Regions from separate parts of the Homo sapiens genome. Here regions 1 and 3 are each linked to region 2. The links are contacts of gene promoters, found by promoter capture Hi-C in blood cells and fetal thymus (Javierre and others, 2016). All regions are on one chromosome and are shown on one strand. The core of a region is centred on a gene start or on the middle of the fragment in contact, and the rest is flanking DNA. Distances in the headings are between cores, read along the strand shown.

Evidence for each region. The method cuts DNA at HindIII sites, captures the fragments that hold promoters and counts their contacts. A CHiCAGO score of 5 or more calls a contact.
Region 1: a contact is called between a fragment that was not itself captured here and the fragment with the promoter of STIM2 in region 2, in 1 of 17 cell types (non-activated CD4 T cells). The highest score is 6.7, in non-activated CD4 T cells.
Region 3: a contact is called between the fragment with the promoter of SEPSECS here and the fragment with the promoter of STIM2 in region 2, in 1 of 17 cell types (total CD8 T cells). The highest score is 6.4, in total CD8 T cells.

What each region holds. Positions count from the first base shown.
Region 1 is chr4:25,232,192-25,235,506 of GRCh38, forward strand. PI4K2B (phosphatidylinositol 4-kinase type 2 beta) reads left to right here and starts at 1,842. Exons shown (of 10, transcript NM_018323.4): 1 at 1,842-2,240. The coding sequence starts at 1,973. It overlaps LOC105374535 (a long non-coding RNA gene), which reads right to left and starts at 1,674. Exons shown (of 4, transcript XR_925490.3): 1 at 1,598-1,674. RefSeq lists silencers at 1,632-1,941, 2,042-2,281, 2,322-2,381 and enhancers at 1,668-2,169, 2,170-2,669, 2,602-2,731. The HindIII fragment of the contact is 3,001 bases long and covers 362-3,315 here.
Region 2 is chr4:26,859,105-26,862,133 of GRCh38, forward strand. STIM2 (stromal interaction molecule 2) reads left to right here and starts at 1,737. Exons shown (of 12, transcript NM_020860.4): 1 at 1,737-2,265. The coding sequence starts at 2,115. It overlaps STIM2-AS1 (STIM2 antisense RNA 1), which reads right to left and starts at 1,495. Exons shown (of 2, transcript NR_134674.1): 1 at 1,406-1,495; 2 at 520-924. RefSeq lists an enhancer at 1,294-1,393 and silencers at 1,484-1,853, 1,864-2,433. The HindIII fragment of the contact is 3,345 bases long and covers 140-3,029 here.
Region 3 is chr4:25,158,697-25,161,887 of GRCh38, forward strand. SEPSECS (Sep (O-phosphoserine) tRNA:Sec (selenocysteine) tRNA synthase) reads right to left here and starts at 1,753. Exons shown (of 11, transcript NM_016955.4): 1 at 1,560-1,753; 2 at 257-411. The coding sequence starts at 1,673. It overlaps SEPSECS-DT (SEPSECS divergent transcript), which reads left to right and starts at 1,976. Exons shown (of 2, transcript NR_037934.1): 1 at 1,976-2,057. RefSeq lists a silencer at 1,437-1,606 and an enhancer at 1,717-2,016. The HindIII fragment of the contact is 2,962 bases long and covers 1-2,694 here.

The DNA.
Region 1 (3,315 bases), core at 612-3,111, 1.6 Mb before region 2:
CCAGCACTTTGGGAGGCCGAGGCGGGTGGATCATCTGAGGTCAGGAGTTCGAGACCAGCCTGGCCAATGTGGTGAAACCCTATCTCTACTAAAAAATACAAAAATTAGCCGTGCATGGTGGCAGGCACCTGTAATTACAGCTATTCTTTCTTTAAAGCGGAGAAGGCATCAGGGAAGAGGGTTGTAGGTGGTGAAGCAAATGGTTACATTTTTGCTAGACTTTAGGTAGTGCCCAGTAACTCTATGCTATGCATAAGATAAGGTGAATATTCAAAGAAAATGGAGTAAAGGAAGTTAATTATACAGATATCTCAGGTGAAGGAATGATTGATCTTATCCTTGTTCTGCATCTGGGAAGATAAGCTTGTAACTGAATTTATCCATGTGAAATTTAACAGACTTTAGTTGTACCAGTTTGATTTAGGTTGCAGACTTAAAGTTATACAATTGACACGTCCTTGTTTTATGGAAGGATATACATCTTGAAAGGTTTAAGGGCCAGTAAAGAATTTACTATGATTAATTTGTTGAGGACAGTCATCCTGAGACTGAGATGCATAAGGCTTTTTTTTGCATTTTGAGGAGGGTCTGGCTAACATATAAAGTTTTAATACAACTATGGGAAGTAACAGCTATCCATTTGGGAAAAGCATTGTAGTGTTGAGTGACTTCAGTCTCCAGGCTTAACTCTCCCTTTGACATAACAAGTTGGGGGTGGGGGGTGGTTCTGAGATTTTTATTTTCCTTTACAGGGTCAAAGAGGAAATCATAAAGGAAATTAAAAACTATTTTCAGCTGAAGGAAAACAAAAGCACAGTAGCAGGCCAGGCAAGGTGGCTTATGCTTGTAATCCCAGAATTTTGGGATGCTGAAGCAGGACGACTGCTTGAGACCAGGAGCTCAAGACCAATCTGGGCAACAGTGAGATCCCATCTCTACAAAAAATTTAAATTTAAAAATTAACAGGATGTGGTCGTGCACACCTGCAGTTCCAGCTACTGTGTCTTCTACAGTTTAAAGCTGAGAAGATCCCTTGAGCTTAGGAGGTTGAGACTGCAGTGAGCTATGATTGTGTCACTGCACTCCAGCCTGGATAACAAAGTGAGACCCTGTCTCAAAAATAACAACCACCAAGAAAAAAAAAAAGGAGAATTCAGCTAAAGCAGTGCTTAGAGGGCAATTTATAGCCTTAAAATACTAGCATTGGAAAAGCAGAAAGATCCAGAATCAATCATCTTCTACTCTAAGCAACTAGAAAAAGAAGAGGAAATCAAAACTCAAGTGAGCAATAAAGAGCAAAATAAGGCAATGGACCAGAAAACAGAAAATCAATGGAACCAAAACATGACATTTTGAAAAGATTTAAAAATTGATAAACTTCTAGCTAGATTAGTCAGAAAAAGAAAACATACAAACTGCCACTATCAAGAATATCTGAACAAAGACAAGGTCCCTGCCCTCCTGGACGTCTACTGGAGGAAAGAAATGTCATACAATTAAATCTATAGTTACAGATTATGGTAAACTCTGAGAGAGAATTCTGTCAGGGAGAAGCCGCTTTTGGTTGCAGGAGGGCACCTCTTTGAAAATTACTCACCTTCCCGCCCTCCACTGGGAGTAAAGCGAGCTGTGCCCAGCTTCTCCCCGCGCTCACGGAAGCAGGTGGCGGCCCCACCCCACCTGACCCCTCAAAAGCCCCGCCCCCTGTTCACTCCCACGTGCCCCGCTGCCGCCGCCGCCGCCGCCACGACCCTTCTGCGCAGGCGCGGGGGTGGTGCCTGGCGGAGGCGCGAGGTGGGGCGCGGCCGGCGGCGAGGCGGGACAACCGCTGGGCGGGCGCCAAGCGTGCCCGTGCGCTGGTGAGGTGGCGTCCGTTCTACCCGGTCGCTCCCGTTCCGCGCCATGCAGAGCCCAGTCTCTGGCACCTGGCTGCTCTGATCTGGTCTCAGCGCGGAGGGAGCAGAGGGAGTCCATGGAGGATCCCTCCGAGCCCGACCGGTTGGCGTCCGCGGACGGCGGGAGCCCGGAGGAGGAGGAGGATGGGGAGCGGGAGCCGCTGCTACCGCGGATCGCCTGGGCCCACCCGCGGAGAGGCGCCCCAGGCAGCGCCGTGAGGCTGCTGGACGCTGCCGGGGAGGAGGGCGAGGCCGGCGACGAGGAGCTGCCCCTCCCGCCCGGGGACGTGGGGGTCTCCCGGAGTTCGTCCGCCGAGCTGGACCGGAGCCGCCCCGCGGTTTCAGGTGCGACCCGGCCCTGCCCCACTCCCCGCGCCCCTCCGGGCGGCTGCCCCTGTCGCCCGGCTCGGTCCTGTCTCCCGCGCGCGCTGGCCGAGGTGGACGGGCTTTCCCCGCTCGCTGGGCAGCAGCTCCCGAGCTCGGACCGGCGCCAGCCGCAGCCGCACCGCGGGCACCTAGCTTGCTCGCTCTTTCTCCGGGAGCTCCCTCTCCTAAGGCCAGTGGTTGTCATTAAACCGATTCTTTAGACCTCCCCGCAAAGTGAGTCAAAACTTCTAGAAACCGACACTGGGGAGAGGTTAACGCTGTAAAATGACGTAAGTCCTTGCTCAAGTTTGGACTTGACTTTTGAATTAAGAACCTTGAACTCTCAGGAAAGTTCCCGGAGTGGTGAATTTGCAAAGTGGATGACAGGAGAGAGATGGACAGCCAGAATATCCAGTTGCCACTGGGGCACGTTTCAAAACCTTTTTCTATTAAATGTTGTTATTATGAAGTTAGCCACAGGGGGCAAAAGCAGTTGAAAGTCTGTTCCTGCCCTCTTACAGTTTAGTTTCTCTTTCTTGATTTACTTCTAATACATAAGAAAACCAAAACGAAAAACCTCTTTTCGCTATTAAGCGGACTGATAACCTCAGGCGAAACAGGGCAGTTGAAATGATGTTGAAGGTTAAATTTAGGTATGCTGTGCAGGCCTGGATATTTATTAATAAAGTGAGTTTTTCTGGCGTGTTGAATGGAGTTAGACAAATGTGATGGAAATAGCAAGAGACTTGTAAGACTCTCAGCTAGAGGTGAGACAGACTTGTTTGTAAAAAGGCGATGGTACACCTCCCTGCTGGTTGTGAGGATGGATTAAATGAGATGTTGTGCACCCGGTTGGTTTATCGCTTCACACATGACAACTTAAAAACCACAGAAAATGGAAGTTTCTTTAACACTGCTTAGTTTTTTTTGGAATTGTTAGATTTTAAATGTACTGTTAGTGGTACACTAATGTGTCCTTTACAGTTTAAAGAATTTTGGATAGAATCGGTCACTCAAGTTCTAGCTAGAGGCTACATTCAGGCATATTCTAGAG
Region 2 (3,029 bases), core at 487-2,986:
CATAGCCCTGACTGCTGACTTAATTGCCTTTTTCAAGTGTCTCTCTTGCCTAACCCTCACCACTCAGTACTCTGCCTGGCACATACTAGGTACTCAGTAAACATTTAATAAATGAAATGCCTCCTGGAGAGCAGGAACAAGCTTGTTATTTATATTGTTCTGGTCCCCTAGCAGAATTATCTTCTCTGGTGGGCACTCAGCACTCTGGTGTGACTTCATCGCTGTGCCTTTCAGCAGGGGAAATATAATCTCCCGGTTGCCCTATAAAGAATTGCCACCTGAACACTATGCCCACAAGAAGTCTGCTGAGAAATAACTGTTGATAGATTGACTTAGCCTCAAAGACATCCTTGATTCTTTTCTAAAGTGTGCATCTGCCCTTCCACAATAAACGATATTTGTGGTTATCTTGGCCAGGCTACCTAAGAAATACTTTAGGAGAATGTAATTTGAGTATCTTCTTGGCTTGAGAAAGCAAGCAAACAAACCAATAAGCAGAATGAAACCAACAAAACCCAATAGCAAAAGGATCTTCGTGTTTAATAACCCTATCTGCAAATTTTAAACAATTTTGTGCCCCTGGGAGAAAGAATGCCTCCTTGCGTGTGAATTTCCAGGGCTTTTAATTTATAGTGACAGTACATTCAACACTTCCTTTTAAATTTGAAGGGAGGTGGCCTTAAAAATATGCTGGCAACTAGTTTGGATGAGAAAGATTCCGGTTCTTTATTTATTCAAACCAATTAGACCAGGTCTGAACAGGATTTACAACAGAGAGCAGATCTTGGGTGCACAAGAGCTTTGCTTCATTCCAGGTTGGCGAAAACAAGTCAAGTCTACATCATTGTTCTGTCAGCCGGTTCAGGATACAGCACAGAGTCGATGGGATGGGGGTGGGAAGGTGATGAGTTCAGGTAAATGTACCTAGGAGAGTCAGAGGCTAAAGTAAATTCTCTTAAATAGGCCTTTTCAGTGGCTGCTAAATCTCGCTCATTTCCCATGAATTAGCTGTGGGATATTGGGGACAACTTACTTCACATTTCTAGGTCTTAGTCTCTTCATTCGTAAAAGGGGGTAACGATAATTTTGGAGTTATAGCATGTAAATGTGTAAAACGGTTAGAGCAATGCCTGGTACACTCACACATAGCACGCGCTTTGTGAAATGTTTGGCAAGTAAATAAAACGCTAAGCTATGCTAACCGCGTCTAAACAGCCAGCCACTTGTAAGCCCCACCTATATTGAAATTACGGGGACGCTGCTGTTTTCCGATTGCAAGATTTTCCTGATCCATGCAATTACTTTCGCTGCCCTCTACGAGGCTGAAACTCGCCCTCAGGATGTGGGACGTCTGGACTCTTCTCTCCGTCCCCTTGTAGCCCCCCACTCCCCCTCGCGGTGGTACCGTGAATGAGGGAGAGGTACACGTCCCCCTTCTTCCCCGCCTCCTATCTTCGCGGCTCGCTAAAGCGTTATCAGCCGCCCCACGGTACTACCGTCCGTCTAGGAACGCCTCCGGGGCGGGGCTGGGATGCCGCGCACGCGCAGTACAGCAGCGCCGCGCCTGCGCCGTGGAGAGCCTGAGGGAGGCGGGGGATTGGTATGCGAGCGAATGTGCGAGGGGAGGGAGGCGTCCCGGCGGAGCGTGGTACTACGACCAGCGCGGGCCGGAGGGGGCGGGGGGATGCGCCGCGGCGGCGGCGGCGCGGGAGCTGGGGTTGGTGTTTGGCGGCGCCAGAGCAGCGGATCCCGGTCTCGCCGCAGCAGCAGCGCGGGTGTCGTGCACCGCCTGAAGACGCCGTACCTTTCTACCCCCCACCTTTTTTTTTTTTTTTTTTAAATAACCGGAACCAATGAACGCAGCCGGGATCAGAGCTCCGGAGGCCGCCGGTGCCGATGGGACCAGGCTGGCGCCCGGCGGGAGCCCGTGTCTGAGGCGGCGGGGGCGGCCGGAGGAGTCGCCGGCGGCGGTGGTGGCGCCTCGCGGAGCCGGCGAGCTGCAGGCGGCCGGGGCGCCGCTGCGCTTTCACCCGGCTTCTCCTCGGCGCCTTCATCCCGCCTCGACTCCTGGCCCAGCGTGGGGCTGGCTGCTGCGGCGGCGGCGCTGGGCTGCGTTGCTGGTGCTCGGGCTGCTGGTAGCCGGAGCGGCGGACGGATGCGAGCTTGTGCCCCGGCACCTCCGCGGGCGGCGGGCGACTGGCTCTGCCGCAACTGCCGCCTCCTCTCCCGCCGCGGCGGCCGGCGATAGCCCGGCGCTCATGACAGGTGAGGGGCCGGGGGGCGGCGGGCGGGGCTCGGCCGGCAGCGATGGGACCCCCAACCCGTGCAGAGGTCAGCATCTCCGCCGGACGTCCGCTATTCCGCGGCTCCGGCCAGGGCGCGATGCGGAGCCCTGCCTGCTGCTTCGTCGCGGTCCCCTGCACTCCGGACGTCTTTCCTTTTCACCCCGACACCCCGCCCTCGCCGAGCCTCTCGACGGCACTGATTCCCCTCCCTTCAGTCGGGCTCTCCGATCTTCCAAGCTGAGCAATGCGGTGGTTTCTCTTTCGTGCTGCAGAAGTGCCAGCAGGGTCTGCAGGGGACTGGGCTGATTTTTTTTTTTTTTTTTTTTTTGAGGCTGCTAGAAAAAGTCAGCAGCAGCATTGCGGTATTGAGTCTACCTCTGGTGCTGCTTTTGCAAAGGCAGCTGGCAGCGAGTCTCACCGGTTCAAAGCTCCGCTTGAGCACAGCGTCCCAGGGGAGCCTGCTAAAGGGGATTCTTTGAGAGCCATAATACCTAGTGATATTAGTGGTTCCGTGTTAGTATGCAGAAATGCCTAAGTTTACAGTGCATTTTTTGCGGGGTGGAAGGAGGCCGTTTTAAGTGGTGATGGAAAGTGTTTGGTGGTGGGAGCATCACTGGGTGACAAAGGGTGTAGAAACCTCAGCAGGTAACCAGAAATTATACCTAAAATTTGCAAAGTGCAGCATACTCGGGGCTTGCAGCTGGCAGCACAGTTCTGATAGACTGCACTAGCACCTTTTTTTTA
Region 3 (3,191 bases), core at 503-3,002, 1.7 Mb before region 2:
TATAGCCTGTGTTAGTCACCCAGAACCTGACAGGGTAACCCCCACTTAGTTTTTACTCTATTGTCTTTGAAAAGCACCTGCTGAGATAAAATTGTTTCCATCTCCCTGTTGCATTTGGCTTACATATCCATTAGAGCAGGGAAGAAGTGGTTTACAAACTGACATTTGATAATCTAATAAGATAAATACTGCTGCCATTATTTTGAACCAAAAATAAATAAACGATGTATCTCCTGTACTACTTAAAAAAAGATACCTGTAATGACGACGAGCAACCAGTGCGGATGCCACTCTCCCTTCCCTTTCTCCCACACCACAATTGCCTAAGAAATTGTTGCTGTCCATGATTGCAAGTTCATGTAAAAAGAGTTCAAGTGTACTTTCATCCCAGCCATTCTCTGGACACTTGCCCTTAAAAAAAAAAAAAAACTTATGATTATATTTAATAAAACTACCGTTCTCTAGAATACTACAGGAATACAGTTTTTCTTTTTAACGTGTATTTTGCCACGCTGCTTGTTTTCTAAAATTCAAGCATAAATTCACCACTGTATAGAGACCGCAAAGAGGCAAAACGTTTGTACATTTGATTACAATTATTTACAGATTTCGAGAAGTGATGATAAATGCATACAATGAGGTTTACTGAGATATTTAAATTTCCGTAAGTGAAACTAACTGAAAACCAATACAACACATCCCCAGTGAAGATGCTTCAAACCAGGGCGTTACGACTGGGGCGGTGGGACGTGGAGAAGGGCGGTAGTTGTCAAACTTCAGTGAAATTTTGGCCACGCGCTGTAGCTCACTCACGCCTGTAATCCGAGCACTTTGGAAGGCCAAGAATGGCCGATCACTTGAAGTCAGGAGTTTGAGATCAGCCTGGCCAACATGGTGAAACCCCATCTCTACTAAAAATACAAACATTAACCGGGTGTGGTGGCGGGCGCCTGTAGTCCCAGCTACTCGGGAGGCTGAGGCAGGCGAATGGCGTGAACCCGGGAGGCGGAGGCTGCAGTGAGCCGAGATCGTCACACTGCATTCCAGCCTGGGCGAAAGAGCGAGACTCTGTTTCAAAAAAACAAAACACAACAAAACTTTTAATGAAATTAAAATACATGAACGCTGGCAGGAGGGAGACCTGTGAAGTTCCGCGGAAAGCTCGTGGTTCGAGTTAGCATACAGTCTACAAACACCATTATGTGTTCTGAGTCGTTGAGGGTTGGTGAAAGATGGAGGTGCGAACTTTGCCCTTTCCGCGAATAAAAAAGTACACTGGGACTTTCCCTCACTTCCGCATCCCGAAGTTAGAAACAGCGGGACTCAAAACCCCGACCCCAACACCCCCTCCTAACAACACCATTTGGCTTTCACTGGCTTTGGCAAGGCTGAGAAGGCACAGACCGCAGTCGGTCAGCTAGGGCAAGCCAAGCTGAGACAGACTTGGGACTAGTCTCAAGCAGCGAAGAGCTGCCGGTGAGGCAGCACCAGCGGGGACGCCCGGCGGAGCCAGAGCCCCGGGGTCGCGGCGGCTGGGGAGGGGACCGACAGCTCGGTACCTTCTCCAGAAGCAGCCGTATGAGGTGCTCATGCGAGCGGCGGGCCTCACAGCCCTGCCGCACGTAAGCCGGCGACACCAGCCGCTCTCCCGCCGCGAAGCTCTCGCGGTTCATGACAGCGGTGGCGACAGTGGCGAATAAGCGGGAGCACTAGCTCCACACGCCAGACACACGACGGAACCAGAATGCAACTCGCCGCCTGGACGGTACGGCAGCGCCTTGGGACAAAAAACAAAACAAAACAAAACAAAACAAAAAAAACACTTCTCGTTCGTGCACATGCGCAGACCTTCTCAGATGGCGCTCCAGGAGGAAGTTGGCGTATTTGAGCATGCGCGAGGGAGTCCGCGCTTTTCGCTGACTTTTGGCAAAGGAAGGACTGAAATTAGCCCCGCCCCGCTGCGGCTGATTCGTCTAGTTAAACCCTGGTGTTCCTGACACAAACTTCAGGAAAGGATTTTGCACTTGTGCAGACCGGGCGAGCAGAGTAAGAAGCAGGTACGTGGGTTTTTCCAAGTTCTGTGTTTCAGTCCTGTTGGATGGTTGAGATCTGTGCAGGGTCTGTGCTTCCGCCTTATTCAAACTGTCAGATGCCAGAACCTTCGATCTTTACTTTGATACATTTCCACACTTATTACTGCCTCACAACCCCATAGGAAATAGCAGTGCCCCACTCATTTTCCCCTTGACACTACTGTTTAGCCATAGCACTTACTACTCACCACGTGACATGCCAGACGTTTGTTTATACACACACACACACACACCCATACCCATGAATGTAAACTCTCTAACCTAACGGCAGGACCTCGGTTTTTGCTGCGGTGCCCCCTTCCCCCGGGCACCTAAAACAGTGCCCAGAATAAAGTAGGGCCTAAAAAAAAAGTTGATATTGAATTAATGAATTAGTTTGACCATTCTGAAACTATCCCCAAGAACATTTTGTAAAATTGATTAAGGAGGGGAAAAAAATCCAACTAGGCTTACAGCTGCTGTTATTAAGCCAGCTTGCAGTGTGGCCGACTTTCTTGTAGCTGGTTGCTACTTACTACCCCAGGAGAATGTGGCCCTTGTCACAAGACTCTTCATTCTTTTTCTGCTCTGAAGATAAAATCTAAGACATTATGAGAAGATAAGCTTTCTGTTTGCATTGCTTCTTTAGGTCCCGCATACCAACAAAACTAAGGACGCCAACTTGTCTGGAAGGCCCAATAAAAAGCTGATTCATGGAGGAATGCAATTGTCACATCCTAATGATTTCATCTCCCTTACCCCAACGAATCGATAACCCCAAATTTTCCAGCCCCTCACCCTCCACAAATCCCCTTAAAAAACTTTGCCTAGAACCCCTTGATGAAATGGATTGAAGCTTGAGAACTCTTCCTGTTTCCTGGCTTGTAACTTGTGATTATTAAAACTTTCTCTGCTGCAAGCCTGCTGTCGGAATACTGGTCTGTTTCTGCACAGCCGGCATAGGAACCTGGCAGTGCTGTAACAGTTCAACAACTTAGAGGTTCACTGCTGGAGATCCCTGCCTCCAGTTTCCTTACAATCTTCATCTTATGTGAGCCTACAGTAATTCCTGACATTGCTTTCACCTGGTGGTTTGTCCATTTGCACTGAGTCACACCC